Regions from separate parts of the Homo sapiens genome. Here region 2 is linked to region 1. The links are contacts of gene promoters, found by promoter capture Hi-C in blood cells and fetal thymus (Javierre and others, 2016). All regions are on one chromosome and are shown on one strand. Each heading gives the region's core, a stretch centred on a gene start or on the middle of the fragment in contact. The rest is flanking DNA. Distances are from core to core; before and after follow the strand shown. Region 1 holds the start of KLF11 (KLF transcription factor 11). Region 2 overlaps NOL10 (nucleolar protein 10).

The links. Contacts are between HindIII fragments. The CHiCAGO score rates a contact against its expected background, and 5 or more counts as called.
Region 2: a contact is called between a fragment that was not itself captured here and the fragment with the promoter of KLF11 in region 1, in 1 of 17 cell types (total B cells). The highest score is 6.2, in total B cells.

The regions. Positions count from the first base shown.
Region 1 is chr2:10,040,793-10,044,799 of GRCh38, reverse strand. It overlaps KLF11 (KLF transcription factor 11), which reads right to left and starts at 1,250. Exons shown (of 4, transcript NM_003597.5): 1 at 1,042-1,250. The coding sequence starts at 1,083. KLF11-DT (KLF11 divergent transcript) reads left to right here and starts at 1,399. Exons shown (of 3, transcript NR_135558.1): 1 at 1,399-1,490; 2 at 1,796-2,167; 3 at 3,149-3,247. RefSeq lists silencers at 557-626, 667-716, 837-886, 1,177-1,406 and a promoter at 1,093-1,992. The HindIII fragment of the contact is 6,616 bases long and covers 222-4,007 here.
Region 2 is chr2:10,665,268-10,669,394 of GRCh38, reverse strand. NOL10 (nucleolar protein 10) reads left to right here. Exons shown (of 21, transcript NM_024894.4): 7 at 672-737; 8 at 2,117-2,177. Among named protein-coding and RNA genes, the nearest start is that of NOL10, 23 kb to the left of the region's middle. The HindIII fragment of the contact is 2,682 bases long and covers 937-3,618 here.

The DNA of each region.
Region 1 (4,007 bases), core at 1-2,500:
AGAAAACTAAGCCGGGGGCGAGAGGGTGATATTACTCTGAGAAGAGTAATACCCCTCCCTCCCAGGGAGGTTACAGTGGGCCGAGATCGCGCGCCCACTGCACTCCGGCCTGGGCGATAGAGCGAGACTCCCTATCAAAAAAAAAAAAAAGGAAAGGAAACTTTAAATGTACGAAGATACACGTTTCCTCTCTATCTGCCATGCACCAAAGCATCAAAGCTTTCCGTCTGCCGAGGTTCCCCGAGATCAAACAAGACGAGGCCACCTCAAATCCCCGGCCTCTGTCCCGCAGGCTGCGCCACTAAACCCCCTGTGATGTCACAGAACCGGGCGCCGAGGCCGACTCACCACACGGGCGGGAAGGGGCTCGCCCGGCCCACAGTGCCCGCACACCACGAGGCCCGCGCTCTGCCCACGTCCACGGCTACCTCCCCGAAGCCCCCAGGTCGCGACGCTTAGGGCCCCCAACGCTCGCGTGCCGCGTTCCCGCCTCCAAGCGTTGCCCCGCCTCCAAGGCAGTGCGGCGCTCCCGCCTCCCGTCGTTGCCCCGGCCCCTAGACCTTGCCCGCCCCCAGGCCCGAGCGGCACTACCGCTAGCCGCTCTTAACCCGCCCGACGGCCGCGTGCCCCGCCCCCAAAACCGTGCCGCGTTCCCGCCAGCAGCTCTTGCCCCGCCCCCAAGGCCGCGTGCCGCGTTCCCGCCAGCCGCTCCCCCGCCCAACGGCCGTCCGGCTCACAGGACCGGGGTGACGTCATGGCTGGAAATAGCCGCGGGGCCAGCGGGGCGGGGCCGCCCAGGAAGCGCAAGACAAAGCTGCGCGGGGAACACGCCCCCTCCTCGCCCCCGCCGACCCGGGCGCGCCCGTCGCGGCCGCCGCCCCGCCCGGCTCCGGAGCCCGCCCAGGCCCCTACCGGCGCGGCCGCAGCGAAGCCCTGCACGCCCCACCTCCCGCATTTACAGGCGCGCGAGTGCCGCACCACTTCCCCCGCCTCGCCCCTCGCTCAGACGAGTAGTCCCGCCGCGGCAGCCCCACCACTCACTGCGCGCGCGTCGTCTGGGCCTGCGAAGTCCGGCGTGTGCATCGTGCAGGCCGGCCGGGAGCAACAAAGCGGCCGCGGGGCGTGAGCTCGGGCGCAGCAGCGGCCGCACGTGGGCTGCGGGCGGCGGCGGCGGCGGCAACCCGGAGCTCCTGCGGCCGGCACGCGCCTCGCCCGCCCGCGCGGCTCTGCCCCGGCGCGGCCCTCGCGGCGCGGGAGGGGCGGGGCGGCCGCGGAGGGAGCGGCTGGCGGGGCGGGGCGCGGAGGCGAACCAAAATACACCGCGCCCCTGCCGGGGCGGGGCCGGCCACCACCAGCCAATTCGTGCCCGGCCGGCCAATGAGCGCCGCGGGGGGCCGCGTGATCGGAGCCTGGCCGCGGCGTGATCGGGCAGGGCGGGACGCGGCACGTGTTTTGGTCGGAGCGAGGGGCGGGGCCTGAGGCCCTGGAAAGTAAGGGAAAGGTCGCAGCGGCGCCAGGGGCAAGCGGGGCGGAGGGGGCGGCGGGGGCGGAGGGGGCGGCGGGGGCGGAGGGGGCGGCGGGGCGGCGGGGGCGGCGGGGCGGAGGGGGCGGGGCGGCGGCTGGGGAAATCCCAGGGCCGGGGCCGGACTCGGTGCGGGGAGAGGGGACCACGCTTATAGGAACCTCCTGCAGCCCCACCGGCTGAATCCATCGGTAGCGGAGACCCACCTAGAGGCCTCAACCTGGCTTTTGTTTGGTTGTTTTTAACTTCTGTCATTCTCCCTTCGTCTCTTAGGAATGCGTCCTTGACCGGAGAGGTCGGAAAGCTGGCCGGTTCTAGGTGACATTCCTGCATCCGGTCATTTTTGCAGACAGCGGGAGTCAGAGCTTATTGGCCTGAGTGTCCCGCTGACGCCCCTCCTCTGGCGTCTCTGGGCCTCTTCCGCTCTGTTACGGGGTCAGGGGAAGCCGAAACGGGCAGTCACCCAGAAGGCGCCCGCTGAAACCCGCCCATTCTTCCCAGGCCCCGAGAAAACGCCGCCCCCTCCGGGAAGTCCTCGAGCCTGCAGGAGACATCTAGCCCGCTGTCCAGGGCACCTTTTTTTTTCTCCCTATATTTCGGTTGCTCGCGTCTCTTGGTGTGGTTTGCCCACGTCTGCAGCGCCAGGTTCGTGGAGAGCAGGAACCATGCTGTTTATTTTCGTCGCCGCAGCCTTCAGCTCAGCGAGGAGCCACCCCTCCTCCGTCTGTTCACTGCGCGCGCCTTTGCTGAGCTGTGATGCGGGTTGGCGCTCAGTGCAAGGGGCAGAGGCCGCAGTGAGGAATCCTCCTTTTTTAAAAGCTCCATCCAGGGAGCGGGAGCAGAGAGAGAATCCCGGCACCCCGGGGCTTTGCTCTGAGCGAGAGAATTCTGGTCTTAGGGGAACGGGCTGGGCCCCACCACTCACATGAGCAGGACTCTGGTCCCCACTTGTTCCTTCGGGGCCCACTCGGGTTGGGCAGAGGGGTTGACCAGGCTGAGGAGAGGGTGTTTGCTGAAATAGTAAGAGGGTTTAAGACGAAAGAACCGTGATAAACTGCTCGCATGAAGACCCCGGAGGCTCTGAGAGGGGCGCAGGGTGTTCTGTGTGTAAAAAGTTAAGTCTTAAGATACACACTGGAATATTCTCTTTTGCCTGGACTCCTGCATTCGCCTTATAACTGGTCTCCCTGCGTCCACTCCAGCTCCCAGAGCCTCTTCCCACTCAGCACCCCCAGGGGTCTTTAACCCTTTCAGTGGCTCCCACTGTACTCAGCGTAACGCTTCTGCTCCCCACTGTGGCTTGTGAGCTCCTGCAGGGACCCAGCCCCATGCCTCTCCCCACGCCCCGGAGGGACAGCCTGGGCCTCCTCTTGGGCGCCTGTCCCACCAGCCCCTCTGCCGTCTCCAGGTCCTCGCACTTGCTGTTCCCTAGAATGCTTTTCCCCCACATGCCCCCTTTACTCTCACCCGCAGTCCACCTGGAGAGGCCCCCTCTAGCGGACACACCCTCGGGGCCGACCTCCAGTCCCCTTCTGGCGGGCTTTCTTGTTTTCTTCCTCCACAACACTTTTCTTGAACTGCCCCTTTTCCATTACTTCAGTTATTTATCATCTGTCTCCCCACCAGAAGGACTCTCCCAAGGCCAGGGAGCCTGGCTGTTTAATAAGTCCACGTAGGTGAACGAGCGAATCGAAGGTATCCACCAGCCTCCCTGCTTGAACATCCCGTGAGCACCTCTAATTGTGTCCTTAAAAAAACTGAACTCAGGGCCGGGCGCGGTGGCTCACGCCTGTAATCCCAGCACTTTGGGAGGCCGAGGCGGGCGGATCACCTGAGGTCAGGAGTTGAAGACCAGCCCGGCCAACATGATGAAACCCCGTCTCTTCTAAAAATACAAAAATTAGCCTGGCACGGTGGCAGGCGCCTGTAATCCCAGCTACTCAGGAGACTAAGGCAGGAGAATCGCTTGAACCCAGGAGGCAGAGATTGCAGTGAGCCGAGATCGCACCACTGCACTCCAGCCTGGGCGTCAGAGACTCAGTCTCAAAAAAACAAACAAAAAACTGAACTCGGATTCCAGCCAAATCTGGATTTCTCACCTCCGTGAAGGGTACAACTGGAGACCCTGTTCCTTGATCTAGAAACCTGAGCGTCACCTTTACCTCCTCCCTTTCGCACAGTTGCTGTCTTCCGCCAATTACATGCCCTTCTTCCTTCTCAGTTCCTCTCAAACTCTTATGTCACCCACGCCAGCCCTTGTCCTGGCCACCACCTGCTCACCTGAATTGTTGCCACTGCCTCCCAACAGGTCTCCCTCCCTCCAGCCAGACGCCCTACAATCTGCCCTCACCTCACTGCCAGAATGATCTTCTGGAAGCAGAGGTGGAGCTGAACCTGTATTCAAGCCGTCAGTTGGAATCCAAACAGTTATAGGACTGACTTCAGGCTCCATGGCCAGGAACCCATGAGTCTTTGTAGCCAGGCT
Region 2 (4,127 bases), core at 1,028-3,527, 620 kb before region 1:
AATTCAGGCTGGGCATGGTGGCTCATGCTTGTAATCCAGCACTTTGGGAGGCTGAGGTGGGCAGATCACCTGAGGTCAGGAGTTCAAGACCAGCCTGGCCAACATGGTGAAACCTCGCCTCTACTAAAAATACAAAAAAATAGTTTGAGACCAGCCTGGCCAACATGGTGAAACCCTGTCTCTACTAAAAATACAAAAAATTAGCCGGGTGTAGTGAGTGGCGCCCGTGAGCTGAGATTGCGCTATTGCACTCCAGCCTGGGCAATAAGAGCAAAACCCCATATCAAAAACAAAAAAACAAAAAAAAAGAAAAAATTCAGCCATAATTACACCACCCAGAGAGGATCCTTATTATATTTCCTTCTAGTCCTTTCTTATATACATATGTAGATACATTACATATACTTTTGGATCTTGTATTCTCCATCTTATTTGTAAATAGTATTCTACGTAATGACTTCATATTTCCTTGGCACATGAATGGTTTAAATCACTTTTATACATGAACAAATTCATAAAGTGGATATTTTTCAGATTTAGAATACGTTTTTGTATCAGTGTTACAAAAGGAAGTGGTGGCTTATGAGTAATATATATATTTATAAAATTTATATTTACTTAAAGTTTCATTGTAGTTTAGCAGGTTTTTAACTTTCTTTATTACTTTACAGTTCTGAAGTTTATAGGTTAAACTTAGAACAAGGACGATACCTGAATCCTCTACAAACTGATGCTGCGTGAGTAGTTTTAGTAATTCTGCTATATACATTTTGACCAGGAGGTGGAGCCAGATGCTCAGTTTGTTAACAAGTAACATAAACTATTGCAATTAAGCAAAACTCCCAGCAACTTAGTTAAAAAGTACTGTTGAATTTATTCTCAGACAAAAAATTCACTGAAAGATCTGGTGATTACTTTAAAAATTAAATGAAAGCTTTTTTTCATCTACTCAACTTTAAGTCAGTTAAAAATACTCAGTTTATTATTATTACTTGTAGTGTTCTTTAAATTTACATTCATGGTTTTGTTTTGTGATATTTTCTCCTGTGGAGAACTTTTGAATTAATTTGGAGTGCCATTTTTAAATTTTTATGCTCTGCTAGCGGACATTTAAGGTTTTTAAAGGTTTCCTTTTATCATACATTATAGTCTACACATATGTACTATGCAGCAAAAATTTTTAGGAATGAATCCATCATCATCATCATCACAACAAATAATAGTGATAAACACAGTAGGAAAGCACTTTGTGCCAGGTGTTATTCAGTCATTTTACCTTTATTATCTCATTTTAAACTTAGAACAGATTTTTGTGGTAAGTACCATTTTACAGATAGGGCAGCTGAGGCTCAGAGAGGTAAGTAGTTTGCCCAAGGCCACACAACTAGTCAAGGGTGGAAGCTGGATTACTTCTCATTGTGTATATGAAGAGCTTGCTGAATTTCTCGTATTGCTTTGAGAGGATTTTTAAAGGTTAGGTGAACATGTTGTGATAAGAACCAAATAAACTCTAATTTTTTTTTATTTCACATTGGGTAGAAATGCTTTTATTTTTATTAAAAAAAAAACTTGTAGTAGTAACTTCACAAATGCATTATATTGAGTGTCCTCTGTACCCCAGATACTGCTGAACGCTTTGCAGTCTTTTTCATTTAATCCCCATAACAACCCCCCGAGGTAGGTGAAATATCCATTTTACAGAGAAAGAAAATGAGACTTAGAATGATGTACCCAGGACAAGCCTGTCAAGGCTCAGGATTGTCATGGTGATAGCGTGTGTTCTTTTAAGAATGTTACCTGCCTTGGAAGAAAATACCTTGAAAAATAGAGTGACCCTTTCTTCTCATGGTAGTGGAATAGTATTTCAGAAGGAAGTCCCTCCTTGTTTGTCACCTAGCAGGTAGAGTGTCACCCTGGGGATCAGAAACTCCAGTGACTGAGCCAAGCACTTAACCCTTTCATACCTTGGTGTTTTCCATTTGCAGATTAGTAAGAGAGAATCTGTGTGTCTTCTTTCTACTCAGAATTTGGGTTGACTGTTTATTTATTTAATATTCCTTCCCCACTAAAGTAGGTGCTAACTAATTCATTCTTTCTTACTGCTTTCCTGTGTTAGGGAGAATAATGTTTGTGACATAAATTCAGTGCATGGCTTGTTTGCCACAGGAACCATAGAGGTAAGCATATGTTGACTTTATTTTTTAGAATATTTGTTTTATATTTGATTGGAATTTTTATTTAAAGACTGAGTTGCTTGATTCCTTAGAGCAGGATGATAATGAGGTGATAGCTTGAACATCCTGTAGAGTAACATTCAGTAAATATTGAGATGAATGTACACAACATTTTTCTTTTAAATGATAATATCTTTGAATCAATGTCCTTCACACTTACCAATAGTTTTTTGTAGATTTGCATTTTTCACTTAAAATAATGATAAATACTCATAGTTTTAAAAAATGCAAATATGTCAGAAGCATGTAATTTTAAAAAGTGCCCTTTTATACCTTCCAGTCACCAAATCCTACACCCCAGAGGTAACACTTGAATGGTTTGGAGTAGTATCCTTTCAAATTTTTTTTCCTAAGTGCTATATGCCAATATGCATATGTGTACATACATATTTTTTAAAGTGGTTTACCAAACTGAAATTGTATTCTACTGTAGTTCTCCATTTGCTTTTTTTTTTTTAGACATAACAGTATATAATATACATCTTATTGGTACTTATAATTACTTACGATGCTAAACTAATTTTAAAAAAATTTACAGGCCAGGCGCAGTGGCTCACTAATCCTAGCACTTTGGGAGGCCAAGGCAGGCAGATTACTTGAGATCAGGAGTTTGAGACCAGCCTGGCCAATATGGCGAAACACCGTCTCTACTAAAAATACAAAAATTAGCCGGGTGTGGTGGCACACACCTGTAATCCCAGCTATTTGGGAGGCTGAGGCAGGGGGGCGGAGGTTGCAGTGAATGAAGATTGGGCCACTGCACTCCCGCCTGGGTGACAGAGCGAGACTCCGTCTCAAAAAAAAAAATGATAGTTTACAGATAGCATTCTGTTGTTTGTACTATAATTTATTAAACCAGTTTCATATGGATGGAATTAATGGTTTTTTTTTTACTCAAATTATTTTTATGTTGAGAGATTAATGCAGCCACAAAAAAGAATGAAAGAATGTTCTTTGCAGCAACATGGATGCAGCTGGAGGCTGTTACCCTAAGTGAATTAAGACAGGAACAGAAAACCAAATACTGCGTGTTCTCACTTATGAGTGGGAGCTAACCGTTGGGTACTCATGACCATAAAGATGACAACACTAGACACTGGGGATTACTGGATGGGGAAGGGAGGGAGGGAGGCAAGGGTTGAAAACTAACTGTTGGCTACCATGCTCACTGCCTGGGTGACGGGATCAGTCACACTGCAAACCTCAGCATTATGCAATATACCAGTGTAACAAACCTGCACGTACCCCCAGAGTCTAACAAAGAAGTTGAAGTTGTATTTTAAAAAAAGATTAATATTTGAAATGGGACACTAAGTTTGATCTGACAGATATTATGTAAAACTATGTTGAATGTGTTTGAATACTGTTATGTCTAAATCAAGCTTTCTCTTGGTAGTCAGGTTACTTGAGATTACCAAGGGGAAGTTTTACAAGAGTTTCCCTGAGAAAATAGTTTTTAGGGTCCTTACAGGGCAGTCTAGGCTAGACACCAGGCAATGTGCTAAGAGAAGTTATGTATTAGAACGTGCTGCTCTTCCAGCAGCTGGTTTAAGACCAGCCTAGGACATGTTGAAGGGATAGGAGGTAGGGATGCTCAAAGACTGGGCTTCCGGAAATTCCTTGATTATTAGCAGCTTGCAGTTTCATAAGCATAGTCAGATCAGGCTTAACAAATTCATTTTACATTGATTTTCATATTACATCTCAGATTTTAGTTTCTTCTTTAGTTCTTAGTTATCATAATATTGTCAAACTAAATGTTTGCATTTTGTGCTTTTTGAAGTGCCTAAGAGGGGAGGTTTGGCAATGGAAATATTCAAATTTAGGTAATAGAAAATCAGTGTGCTTAAAAATACATTTTGTATTTACACTGGAAGTTATCTGCATACCCAT